3 separate regions of the Homo sapiens genome follow, and regions 1 and 3 are each linked to region 2. Evidence: promoter capture Hi-C in 16 types of primary human blood cells and fetal thymus (Javierre and others, 2016). All regions are on one chromosome and are shown on one strand. The core of a region is centred on a gene start or on the middle of the fragment in contact, and the rest is flanking DNA. Distances in the headings are between cores, read along the strand shown.

Region 1 (3,344 bases), core at 244-2,743, 700 kb after region 2:
GCCGCAGCAGATTCCAACTGTGCACAAAACTCTTACTACAAACAAGGCACTTAGAGGCCTTCTCACCCATGTGGAGCGCAGGTGCTGCAACAGGGTGGAGCCAAGGCTGAGACTCTTGCCGCAGTCCCCTCAGCGGTAAGGCTTTTAGCGGTGTGAGCGCGCTGGTGCTGGATCAGGTTGGAGCTGACGCTGAAAGTCTTACCACACTAGGCACAGGCATAGGGCCGAAGCGATGGTCACACTCGGGGCAGGAGTACGGCTTTTCACCGGTGTGTACCCAGTGGTGCTTAACCAGATCAGAGCCACATCGGAAGCTTCTGCCATAACCCGGACAACGGTAAGGCTTGTCACCAGAGGGGCTGCCTTGGTGGTGAATGAAGCCGGGGAGGCAGGCTGTGGTCAGTCCACATTTCCGGCACTCGCAGGTTTTGGGGCTTGTAGACGGTTGCTCTTGGCAAAGGCTTCTTCCTCCCCAGGGCTAGAGCCTGACCATTTTCCGGGCGGGCAGCTGCCCCGACCACACCAGGAAGGGCTGCTCAGGCGGAGCCACCTCGCAATCCAGGGGTGACCTGGGGGCTCCCCGGGACGCGAATGTCCCGCTCCCCCGCCGCCCCGCCCCGTCCGGATTCTCCCTCGCCTCTTCTGGCGCGGCCGACTGCGCTGCGAGTGAAGAACTCCCCGTTTCCTAGATGCCAGCTCCTGAGCTCACGAGCACGTCCAGAGCGGAGGACACTCGGGACACCGGGGTCCAGCTCCGGAAACGGAAAATTCCACAAGCCCGTCACTCTAGGAAGCGGCAGCGAACGTTCTCGGTAGGTTTAACCCTCTTCTTCCTCTGACCGAGCGAGGGCTCCCCGTCTGCGGCGCGGTCAGGACCCCGCACTTTCGGCCCGGCTCGGGGTTCTCGGAGTCCGTCCCAAGGCCGGGCCGCACCACCGCTGGGGGGCAGCGAAGCGAGCCTAGAGGAGAAAAGGCGGTCCCCGCCGAGTGCACGCCGGGGGCGGGGCACGGCACGAAGGCTCCGTGGTCGGACTTCTGGGCTGTTCGGAGGCCCTGGCCCACCTGGAGGGCCCTGGAAGAGTTTCCAGCGCTTCCCGAGGTAGGCGTGAGAAGCTCGACGCGGACCACATCTCCCTCATGCACCGCCCGCACGTCCCAGGATGCGCTGCGATTAAGGTACTGCCGCGCCTCGTGTGCAAGGACAGACTTCCGGGGTCGAGAACTACAACTTCCGACTTGCATCACTGCGGTGGCGCTAAACAGCGTCAGCGAGGCGGTGCCCGACGATTTCCCTGTCTTCCAGTTCCGCTCCCTGGGATCAGCGGCGAGAAGCGGGGCGGAGTCTGAGGCCCGAGCCAAGATGGCGGCTGCGAAGCCAACCCTCACGGACTCGCTCTCGTTCTGCCTCGCGCAGCTCGCGGCGGCGGCCGGGGAGGCTCTGGGTGGGGAAAAGGACCCAGCGACCAACGAGACACCCCTGAGCCGCGCGCTCCTAGCCCTCCGCACGCGCCACATCAAGGCAGCGGGGGGAATCGAGCGCTTCCGGGCACGCGGCGGGCTCCGCCCCCTACTCGCGCTGCTACGGCGAGCGGCTGCAGCGGGTTCCGCCCCGTCCCAGGCAGGCCCCGGCTCCGCCCCCTCGTCGGCCGCGTCGGGAGCTTCTAGCCCCGCCCCCGCGTCGGGCCCCGCCCCCTCCGCTGTGTCGTCGTCTAGTCCTACGCCGCCAGTGCGCCTGCGCAAGACGCTGGACTTGGCGCTCAGCATCCTAGCCGATTGCTGTACGGAAGGGGCGTGCCGGACCGAAGTGCGCAGACTCGGAGGCATACTCCCTTTGGGTAAGTGCTCCGCCCCCGTTTCCTAGAAAGATTAGGTTTGCAACTCCCTTGCTCTCTAGACCCGGGCAGTCTGGAGTTCTTTGTGTCCTATCCCGGAATAACGTGCTTTGTGATGGCGCATCGCTCCTGTTTCTCAATCTGTTGTGCCCCGTGACGTCACTGCACTCTCTATAGATGAGAGAGAGCCCTCCCAGACCAGATAATTGTAGCCATTATCTAGGAATTGGTTGTTGAGGACTTCTTTCGAAGCTGGACTAGCGGAGGCCAAAGAGTTATTTGGTGATTTTTTCAGATGATTCTTACCGTCCAGTTATGATGTTCATAGCAGACATTCAGTGCCCAACTATGTGTCCGGCCCTGTGCAAGGTTCTGAAGCCCCACTGATGAGCTGGAAGGTGTAGTGGTTCAGAAAGGGAGATCTGCAAAAGTCACCTAACCCCTCCGAGGCTAGGATTCCTTGTAAAATGGGGCAATAATAGCTACCTAAAAAAATCAGAGTGGGGAGAAAACGAAGTACAAATATGGCACGAATATGCAAATATTCTAAGCATGATACGTATTTCAAGTTATTAAAAACTAGCATAAGCTGGGTGCAGTGGTACGCGCCTGTAGTTCCAGCTATTTGGGAGGCTGAGGCGGGAGGATCCCTTGAGCCTAGGAGGTTGAGGCTGCAGTGAACAATGACTGCCTGTGAATAGCCACTGCATTCCAGCCTGGGCAACGTAACAAGACCTCGTATCTTAGAAAACCAAACAAATCAGTAGTCGCTTAGGAAGCAGGAAAAAATAAATAAAAATAATTAAAACCAGCACAGTAAGAACAAATCCTAGCAAAACATAAGCTTTTCTGTTTACCAGCTAAATTGGTGCCTCCTAGTGGCAATGTGTGAAAGCAGTTTACATGTCACTACCTGCCTTCCACGAAATTATGCTAGTTTTGATGACATCTTAACTTTTCGGATAAAGGGAAGCATTAATATATTTAAAATTTACATAAAATGTATCTGGACCATATATGTTTGACAAGAGCTTTGGTTATTAAATAACCCCCATCATTCAGCTACTATTTTTCATCTTAAATATCTTCTGAATTTATCTGCTTCTCTCTCTTCCTACTTCCATTGTGTGCCCAGAGACTGGTATCTCTGTGCTGTGTGATGCCAGTAGCTGGGTTGGTTCAAGCTATTGTCTTTTCATGCTTGGACTATTATGACAGCCTTTTGACTCCCCCCTTCCTATTCTTTCCCCATAATGCATTCTCCCTATGGATGTCAGATTGTATCGTGTCACTCCCCTTCATAAAACCCTTGTGTGGCCCCCAGTGCCTTCACATTCAAGTCCTGACCCCTTGGCCTGACATTTGAAGCCTTTCACAGACACTGTATCTTACCTCTGGGCCTTTGGAAAGGCTGCTTCCAAACCTGAAATGCCTTCTCACACCCCCATCCACCGTGCTTCTGGCAAATACCTTCCTGTGTACCCCTCCAGACCCAGCCCGAGTGTTAGCCTC
Region 2 (3,787 bases), core at 1,243-3,742:
GGGTTTCAGCACTGGCTTGTTTCCTTAACTCATGTAACAAATACTGAATACCCACTATATGCCCACTGTATGGTTTTCGGCACTGAACAAGACAGACAAGGTCCTGCCCTTACGAAGCTTATATTCTAGGGGAATAAACCAAGAAATAGATCATTTCAGCTATTAAACATTCTGAAGCAAGAGCTATTAAACATTCTAAAGCAGGTGTTATTGTGCACTATGCATATATTTGCATATATTATTTCTCAGAACAGTCCTGTAAAATGTGTGCTGTATCCTTAATTTCTAGATAAGGAAGCAGTGGATTGGAAAGCTGATGGCTTGTGTATGATGATGCTACTAATAATGACATATTCCAGGCAGAAATCCCCTGCTTCTGCTTCCCATGGTCACTTGTGCCAGGCCCGGTTCCTCTTCTCCCTGGGGCTCAAACCTGGTAGCTGCCCCCTCTCACCAATACAAGCCTTGTGAAGATCCTGGAGCAGGGCACAAGCCGCTGACGTCTGCTCCAGTGAGAAGCCCTGCTGGCGGCAGAAAATGAGCGCGTGGCAGAAGAGGTCCAGGGTGATGGCGTCCCTCAGGCTCTGCTCAGGACACCCTAGCTCCAGCAGCTCAGCCAGCACCCTTGGGAGGGAGAGAGGAGTGAGTGACAACTGGGCCTCCTTTCATCACCCTACACCCACCACATGCTTTGGAGTCAGCCATTCCTCATGTTTTCCCAACCTGACCCCTCAGCCTTTGCCAAGAGCTCTTCCCACGCCCCCCTCAGTCCCTACTCCCTCATCTCAGCATTGGTGGTCTTCTCCAGCTGGTGCATGGAATGGACGTCCAGGTACTTCCTGTTATAGTAAAAGAAAAAGAGTATTGGTGGCCGTTACCTATCATGACAAGGCTGTGACAGCTAGTGCGTGAGACTGGGAGTTGGCCACCGGCGTGAAGCTGGGCTCTTTTGCCAGCTTGCTGTGTGACTATGCAAATCGTTAACTCTCTGGGCCTAAATGAACTCTTATGAGCCTCTCCATTTCTAAAGCCTAGGGTTAGGAATCTTGAATTCTTTTTTCTGCTCTGCCACTACCTTGTATGACCTTGGTCAAGTACTCCCTGTGGCCCTCAGTGTCCCCCTCTGTACAATACTCCTTAGCGGCCATGAGACTCCATTTACATTCTGTCTTTGGCTCTTTTTTTCTCACACTGCCTCCTCTTTGGACTGGAGAGGCTGGAAAGCCAACTTCCAGTCACCTGGAGTAATTGCATCTCCAGGCCTCAGTCTCATCTGTAAAATGGGGATGCCCTGGCCACAGACAGGACTGTTGGGGAGACAATAAAGAACGCAAATATTCAGTGTAATTTTTGTCTCTTCACACTCACCACATGCAGATCCGGGGTCGGGGCAGCGGCGGCTGCGGAAAGAAAGCGAATTGGGGAAGGCAGCTGCGGTGTCCTGGCCCGTAGCGAATCTCCAGCAGGCCGGAGAAGCCGCTGTAACTTGCCATCTCATCTCAAGGACTAAGGAGAGGCGCGGGCGAGGGAGGGCTTCAGCAGGCCCTAGGTGCTCTACGCGAGCACAGTAACCACCGGGGTCACACACCCCTGCCTCTCCTCGCCCAAGCAGCCCGGGAGACGTCCCGAACGTTAGTAAGCATAATGACAGGTGGCGCCTGCGGGGGAGCCGGTTTATAAATATTCACGAGCAGACCAGACTGTCCCGCCCTCACCGGAAACAAGTTGGCTCCGGGGTCTTCATCCGCTTTCGCCGCCGCCGCCGTCGTCCACTGAGTCCGCACACTCGCACGCGTCCGCGCGGCCGACCCATGCACTGAGCTGCGATCCTTCCCCGCTTCCCGCCGCAGCTCGGAGAGATGTTCAAGCTCCGACTGCACCCTCATTCCCAAAAAGTGGCTGGTCTTGCGGTTGAGCATCTCGCCGCTCTTCCGTGCCGCGAGGCGCCCCGGGCTCCCGCCGCCTAGGTTCCAGGACAGCCAGCGCTCGGTCGGCGGCTACCAAGGCCGGGCCCGTTCGCCTCGCTCCGGCCAATCTACGCGCGGAGAGGCGCGGCGGGGCGAATCCGTGGGGGCGTCTCCCTCCGTCTCAACGGCGACGGTTGCCAAGGGGGCTTGTGAGGGAAGGAAGGCGGAAAGCGCAGGCTCACGCCAGTGGGAGCGAAGAGAACGCGCAGATACGTGAGAAGTTGCGAGTGCCCACCTGGGCGCCCTCTCTTCCAGGTTGCTAATACGAGGGCCGGTGCTGTCCTCCAGGCTGGGAAGTGGGAGCGCGGTGTCAGTTACTATGGGAACTGCCTCTTGGCCAATCACCGAGAGAAAGAGGAGGTGTTTGGGAAGAAGCCAGAGGACCCGAGTGGCGGGACCAAGCGTAACCAATAGAAGCAGAAGATAAAGAAGTTTCCTCACATCCGGGGCTGCCTTTGGCGCCTGCGCCCTGCGCACCGTTGGGGGGGGGGCAGTGGCGTCCAGTGACGCCCAGTGACGTCCGGTGAAATCCAAGATGGCGGCGCTAGGCTGACCCTCCTGCTGGTGAGGGCTCTGGCGCCGGGGGGGACGGGATCCAGCAGGTGTGTGCAGGGTGGAGGGTGTTTGGGGCTGTGGAACACCAGCCGTTCCCACATCTCTGCTCTGTGTCTTCTGCAGGTGACGGAAGTACCGCCTCCTCCCGTTTGACGCCCCTCAGGGGACCCTGCATCGCTCCAGCCGCCGCGGCCATGTCTGGGCCAGGCAACAAACGCGCCGCCGGCGACGGGGGCTCAGGGCCCCCGGAAAAGAAGCTGAGTCGTGAGGAGAAGACCACCACGACTCTTATCGAGCCCATTCGTCTTGGAGGCATCTCTTCCACGGTTCGTGGGCTCTTGCCTTAACCCTCAGAACTTCCCAGAGCCCTCCCTCTGTTCTCTGGCCAAACTGTGCGGAATCTTACACCCACTTCCCCAAGTTTAGCAAGGTCCGCGTTACAGGACCTTGAAAGAAAGGTTAGAAAGAAGCTCAGAACACGACGCCTGTCTTCCCTTTACAGATAGGAAAACAGGTTTCCAGGGGGCGTGTGACTTGTCAAAGACTAAGGATTTACAAGGGGACAGGCAGAAACAACGTGAGCCTCCTCACAACAAAGACACTTTCGCTGTGTGTTGTCTGAGCCTCCTTAGATTCTGTTAGCGGTTAGTGTGGGAATACCTCCATCTCCCATGCATTGCAGATGCTCTGCTCCTCTTTCTCTCTCTGTGATTGGTTTGTGGGCCCTGCTTGACGCTCTCGTCGGCCCCTTTGTTTCCTTTGGTAGGAGGAGATGGACCTGAAGGTACTACAGTTCAAGAACAAGAAACTGGCAGAGCGGCTGGAACAACGGCAGGCTTGTGAAGATGAACTCCGAGAACGAATTGAGAAGTTGGAGAAGCGGCAGGCCACAGATGATGCCACACTCCTCATCGTCAATCGCTACTGGGCCCAGGTGGATACCTTCTGCTTTCAAAGACCAGGCCTTGATTCAGCTGCCAATCCCCAGATTCCCCTGCTAGGAAAGGAGTATCATGTTGGAAAGCACTAAGGGATTCATAACATTTTTGATGTTTTCTCCTTCCAGCTGGATGAAACTGTGGAAGCCCTTCTCCGATGCCATGAGAGCCAGGGGGAGCTGTCTTCAGCGCCTGAGGCACCTGGGACCCAGGAGGGGCCAACATGTGATGGGACTCCTCTCCCAGAGCCGGGGACATCAGAGCTGAGAGGTAGGACCAGAGTGCTGGGATCTGGGGAGCTTAAGTTCTGGGAGAAGTCCTGGGGAG
Region 3 (3,352 bases), core at 674-3,173, 650 kb before region 2:
AGGCCCTACTACCTGCAGGATCCAAGTCACATCTTGGGGCTGGGTGTGGTGGCTCACGCCTGTAACCTCAGCAGTTTGGGAGGCTGAGGCAGGTGGATCACCTGAGATCAGGAGTTCAAGACCAGCCTGGCTAACATGGTAAAACCCCATCTCTACTAAAAATACAAAAATTAGCTGGGCGTGGTGGCGTGCACCTGTAATCCCAGCTACTCGGGAGGCTGAAGCATGAGAATCGCTTGAACCCAGGAGGCAGAGGTTGCAGTGAGCCGAGGTCGCACCACCGCACTCCAGCCTGGGCGACAGAGAGAGACTGTGTTTCAAAAAAGAAAAAAAACAAAAGTCACATCTTGGCTCTGTGTTCGAGGCCTGAGTTCACACCCTTTTCATTGCCACCGCCACGCCACTGGGAACTCTCCCAGACCCCTCTAGCTCGGGTCCCCATGCTGGGTGGGCTCCAGCTCTGGGGAGGAGGGGCCCCTGGAGGAGGAAGAGGACGGGGGAGGGGTGGGGGGACTCACGGCAGCCTTGCATTTCTTCATGACCGAGCTCTTCTCCGAGGCCCAGATGGTGATTTCATTACGGTCATAGCGTCTCACCAAGCCTGCTATCTGGGAGGAGGAGAAGGAGGTGAAGGGAGAGCCAGGCCTCTCTCACGCCCCCGGTGGCCGCCCTAGCCCTGCCTGCAGCACCACCTCACGGATGAGCTCTTCGTTCTTCCCTTTGATCTCTACGCTCATGGGTGTCCTTGGAAACCTCTGGAACAGGTCCTCCAGACGAACCATGCGCCGGTCTGACCCGTGAGCAAAGTGGCCTGGGGGTGGTGTGGGAAAAGGGGTCAGAGGGAAGCCAAGGCGGAGGTCCAAGGAAGGCAGGCATGGCCCAGGCAGGGCTCGAAGCCCTTGCTCTCACCTGGAGAGAAGTAAACCTCCAGCTTCTCCTTGTAGAGGGGCAGGTCCTGGGGAGGACAGGAAGGATGTCACTAGAGGCCCGCATTGGGCATGGTGACTCTCAGGGTGGGGGTTGGGGTGTCAGGGCAGGGCCCACCTCGAAGTCCAGGCTGCCCACATCCCTGTTTAGGCCCGACTGGCGGCACAGGTTCTCATCATGTGACACCACCACCACTCTGTCCCGTGTCAGCTGACAGTCGAGCTCCAGGAGGTCCGAGCGCTGGGCCATGGAGCTGTGGGGGTGAAGGTCAGCGGGGGGCAGGGGCAGGGGACTGGGATGAGGGGCATGGTGGCTGGGAGGTGGCCGGGAATGTGAGAGCGGAGTTCGTGGCGGGATGTGCAGGCCACCTCCAGGGGGCGCCAGTCACCCAGCTAGGAAGTGAATGGCGTCCCTTGCTGTGATGCAGTCCACGACCTGCACACCCTCACATGGCAGCCTGGGCAGGGGCAGATACACTCACTTCTCCATGGCCTCCATGGTGTTCTCCAGCAGCTCTCCAGATCCTGTGGGGGGCACTGGAGTGGGCCTCTGGGGCTTGGGGTCTAGGGGCCTGGCCCAACCTCATCACCCACATTCCCTCTCTGGGCTCCATCCTCCCTCTGGCCTCACCTCCCCAGCCAGCCCAGGCTGCGCCAGCATCTTCTTCCTCGTCCACACCCTGCCCTGCCACTTCGCTCTCCTTCTCTCTTGGTCCCTGCCCCGTTTCTAGCATGCCCCCTTGGACCTACCCCTCTGTGCTGTCCACTTTGGCACCTGTTCTCACCCCTACCCGGCTCACCTCCTCGGTGGGCCCCCAGGCGGATGCGGAAGGTGGGAGCCCTGGGCGTGTGCAGCAGATGAGGCCGGCGCAGGAAGAAGATGGAGAGCATGGCATAGCTGCCCAGGGCAGGGAGGGCATAGTACAGCAAAAGGCTCATGACCGTACTCCCACAGAAGCTCCTGCAGCCACACGCTCAGCCGTCCGCGGGACTGTGCTGCCTGCCTAGCCAGTGTGGGCCGGCTCTACTACTGGCCACTGCCACGCCCCTGGGACCTGCTGAGCCTGCCGCTGGGCTGGCTTGGAGCCAGGCTGCAGGGTTCGGCTGAAGCTGGGGTAGTGTCAGGAGGTGAGGCAAGTAGCCCTGGCTCTCATATCCCCAGGCCCTTCCCAGCCCCCAGCAGCCCCGTCCTGGGCTACATGAGGGGAGTAAAAACCACCCAGGACTGTCAGGACCTCTCCCTCTCACTGGTACTTGTAGCCAGCGCATCCAACATGCCTACCCCTTGCCATTTCAGAGGATCCAGGGGTGTGTAGGGTGCTCCTGAGTCACCCCGAATCACCCCCAGCCAGTTAGACAGGAAGCCATTAGCGAGAGGACAGGACAGTGACTAAGGGGAAAACTGACCCCCTTCTTTCTAGGAGTCTGGAGCTCTCCAGAGCCCCGTCCCCAGCCCTGGGCAGCTGGGAGTGAAGGGCACCAGGCCCCTGAAAGCCCAAGTCAAGTCTGTCCTCAGAGCCGCACGGGGCAGGGCGGGGGCGTCGCGAACACAGACAGAGCCAGGGTCAGCCATAGACACATCTCTATATTTATATATTAGACGGGTCAGGGAGGTGGCAGGGGCGCCGGGCTCTCCACGCCCCCCAGCTCCACTTCTGCTCACCACACACAGAAGCAGCGAGGGCACGCGAAGTGACAGCTTTGACAGGGAGGGGATTCGGCCCGGCCTGGCTCCTCAGGGATGCTAGCCCTTGAGACTAAGGAATGTTCCTTCAGGGAAACTAGGGTGGGGTTTGAATGAGATGAGGGGGGCAGGCATGGCCCTGAGTCCCTACTCAGCGCCCCCCACCCTCCACCTCTGCCCTTCAGCAGGTTGGGGCAGCCAGAACCCTTCCATTCCAGAACTGCCAGAGACTGGGACGCTGGGGAAGGTAAGGGCGCAGCAGCAGCAGCGGGAGATTGAACTGGGGCCACCTGAGGTCCCGAGGCCCCGTGGGGAGGGCGGGTGGGGAGGAGAAGGCCTTGGCCTGCCTGAAGCTGGAGGCCTCAGCAAAGGAGAGAGGTGGCCAGGCCCATGCTCCACCCCGGCCTGGGCTGCCAAGGTCCGGGCTGGGCACAGTGTCCATTTTCTAACAGTCTGGCGGGAGAGGGGCAGGCAGGAGGCAGGTCCTAAAGAGAGAAGCAGGCAGAAGAGGAGTCGTTAGCACCCCCCGGGCAGACCCACTGGAGCCCTGACCTCAACATCTCTCATTTCACCCTCACAGCTGGATAGGCTGGGTCTCAGTTTCCTTATCTGTAAATGGAGATAATAATAGTACCTAGCTTGAGGTACTGCTGTAAGATTAAAGGAATTAATACATGTAAACCTCTTAGAACAATGCTTAGGGCTTTATGCTTTCATTATTAGAACTGTCTCGGCCGGGCAC

The links. Contacts are between HindIII fragments. The CHiCAGO score rates a contact against its expected background, and 5 or more counts as called.
Region 1: a fragment that was not itself captured here is called in contact with the fragment with the promoter of RNF40 in region 2 in 2 of 17 cell types (fetal thymus and erythroblasts); the score reaches 7.6 in fetal thymus.
Region 3: the fragment with the promoter of GDPD3 here is called in contact with the fragment with the promoter of RNF40 in region 2 in 2 of 17 cell types (naive CD8 T cells and naive B cells); the score reaches 7.3 in naive CD8 T cells.

Annotation. Positions count from the first base shown.
Region 1 is chr16:31,458,165-31,461,508 of GRCh38, forward strand. ARMC5 (armadillo repeat containing 5) reads left to right here and starts at 1,337. Exons shown (of 6, transcript NM_001105247.2): 1 at 1,337-1,835. The coding sequence starts at 1,361. RefSeq lists enhancers at 467-1,007, 1,006-1,345 and a silencer at 1,536-1,885. The HindIII fragment of the contact is 2,362 bases long and covers 313-2,674 here.
Region 2 is chr16:30,759,830-30,763,616 of GRCh38, forward strand. RNF40 (ring finger protein 40) reads left to right here and starts at 2,493. Exons shown (of 20, transcript NM_014771.4): 1 at 2,493-2,531; 2 at 2,646-2,848; 3 at 3,289-3,456; 4 at 3,589-3,730. The coding sequence starts at 2,717. PHKG2 (phosphorylase kinase catalytic subunit gamma 2) reads left to right here. Exons shown (of 10, transcript NM_000294.3): 10 at 1-1,347. It overlaps CFAP119 (cilia and flagella associated protein 119), which reads right to left and starts at 2,233. Exons shown (of 9, transcript NM_001014979.3): 1 at 1,716-2,233; 2 at 1,369-1,400; 3 at 777-839; 4 at 455-624. The coding sequence starts at 1,919. RefSeq lists enhancers at 158-1,357, 1,322-1,471, 2,062-2,241, 2,197-2,834, 2,322-2,581 and 1 more and a silencer at 1,556-1,785. The HindIII fragment of the contact is 4,015 bases long and covers 116-3,787 here.
Region 3 is chr16:30,111,614-30,114,965 of GRCh38, forward strand. It overlaps GDPD3 (glycerophosphodiester phosphodiesterase domain containing 3), which reads right to left and starts at 1,924. Exons shown (of 10, transcript NM_024307.3): 1 at 1,727-1,924; 2 at 1,409-1,451; 3 at 1,045-1,180; 4 at 910-955; 5 at 693-811; 6 at 519-608. The coding sequence starts at 1,865. MAPK3 (mitogen-activated protein kinase 3) reads right to left here. Exons shown (of 9, transcript NM_002746.3): 9 at 2,492-3,095. RefSeq lists a silencer at 1,895-2,189. The HindIII fragment of the contact is 12,096 bases long and covers 1-3,352 here.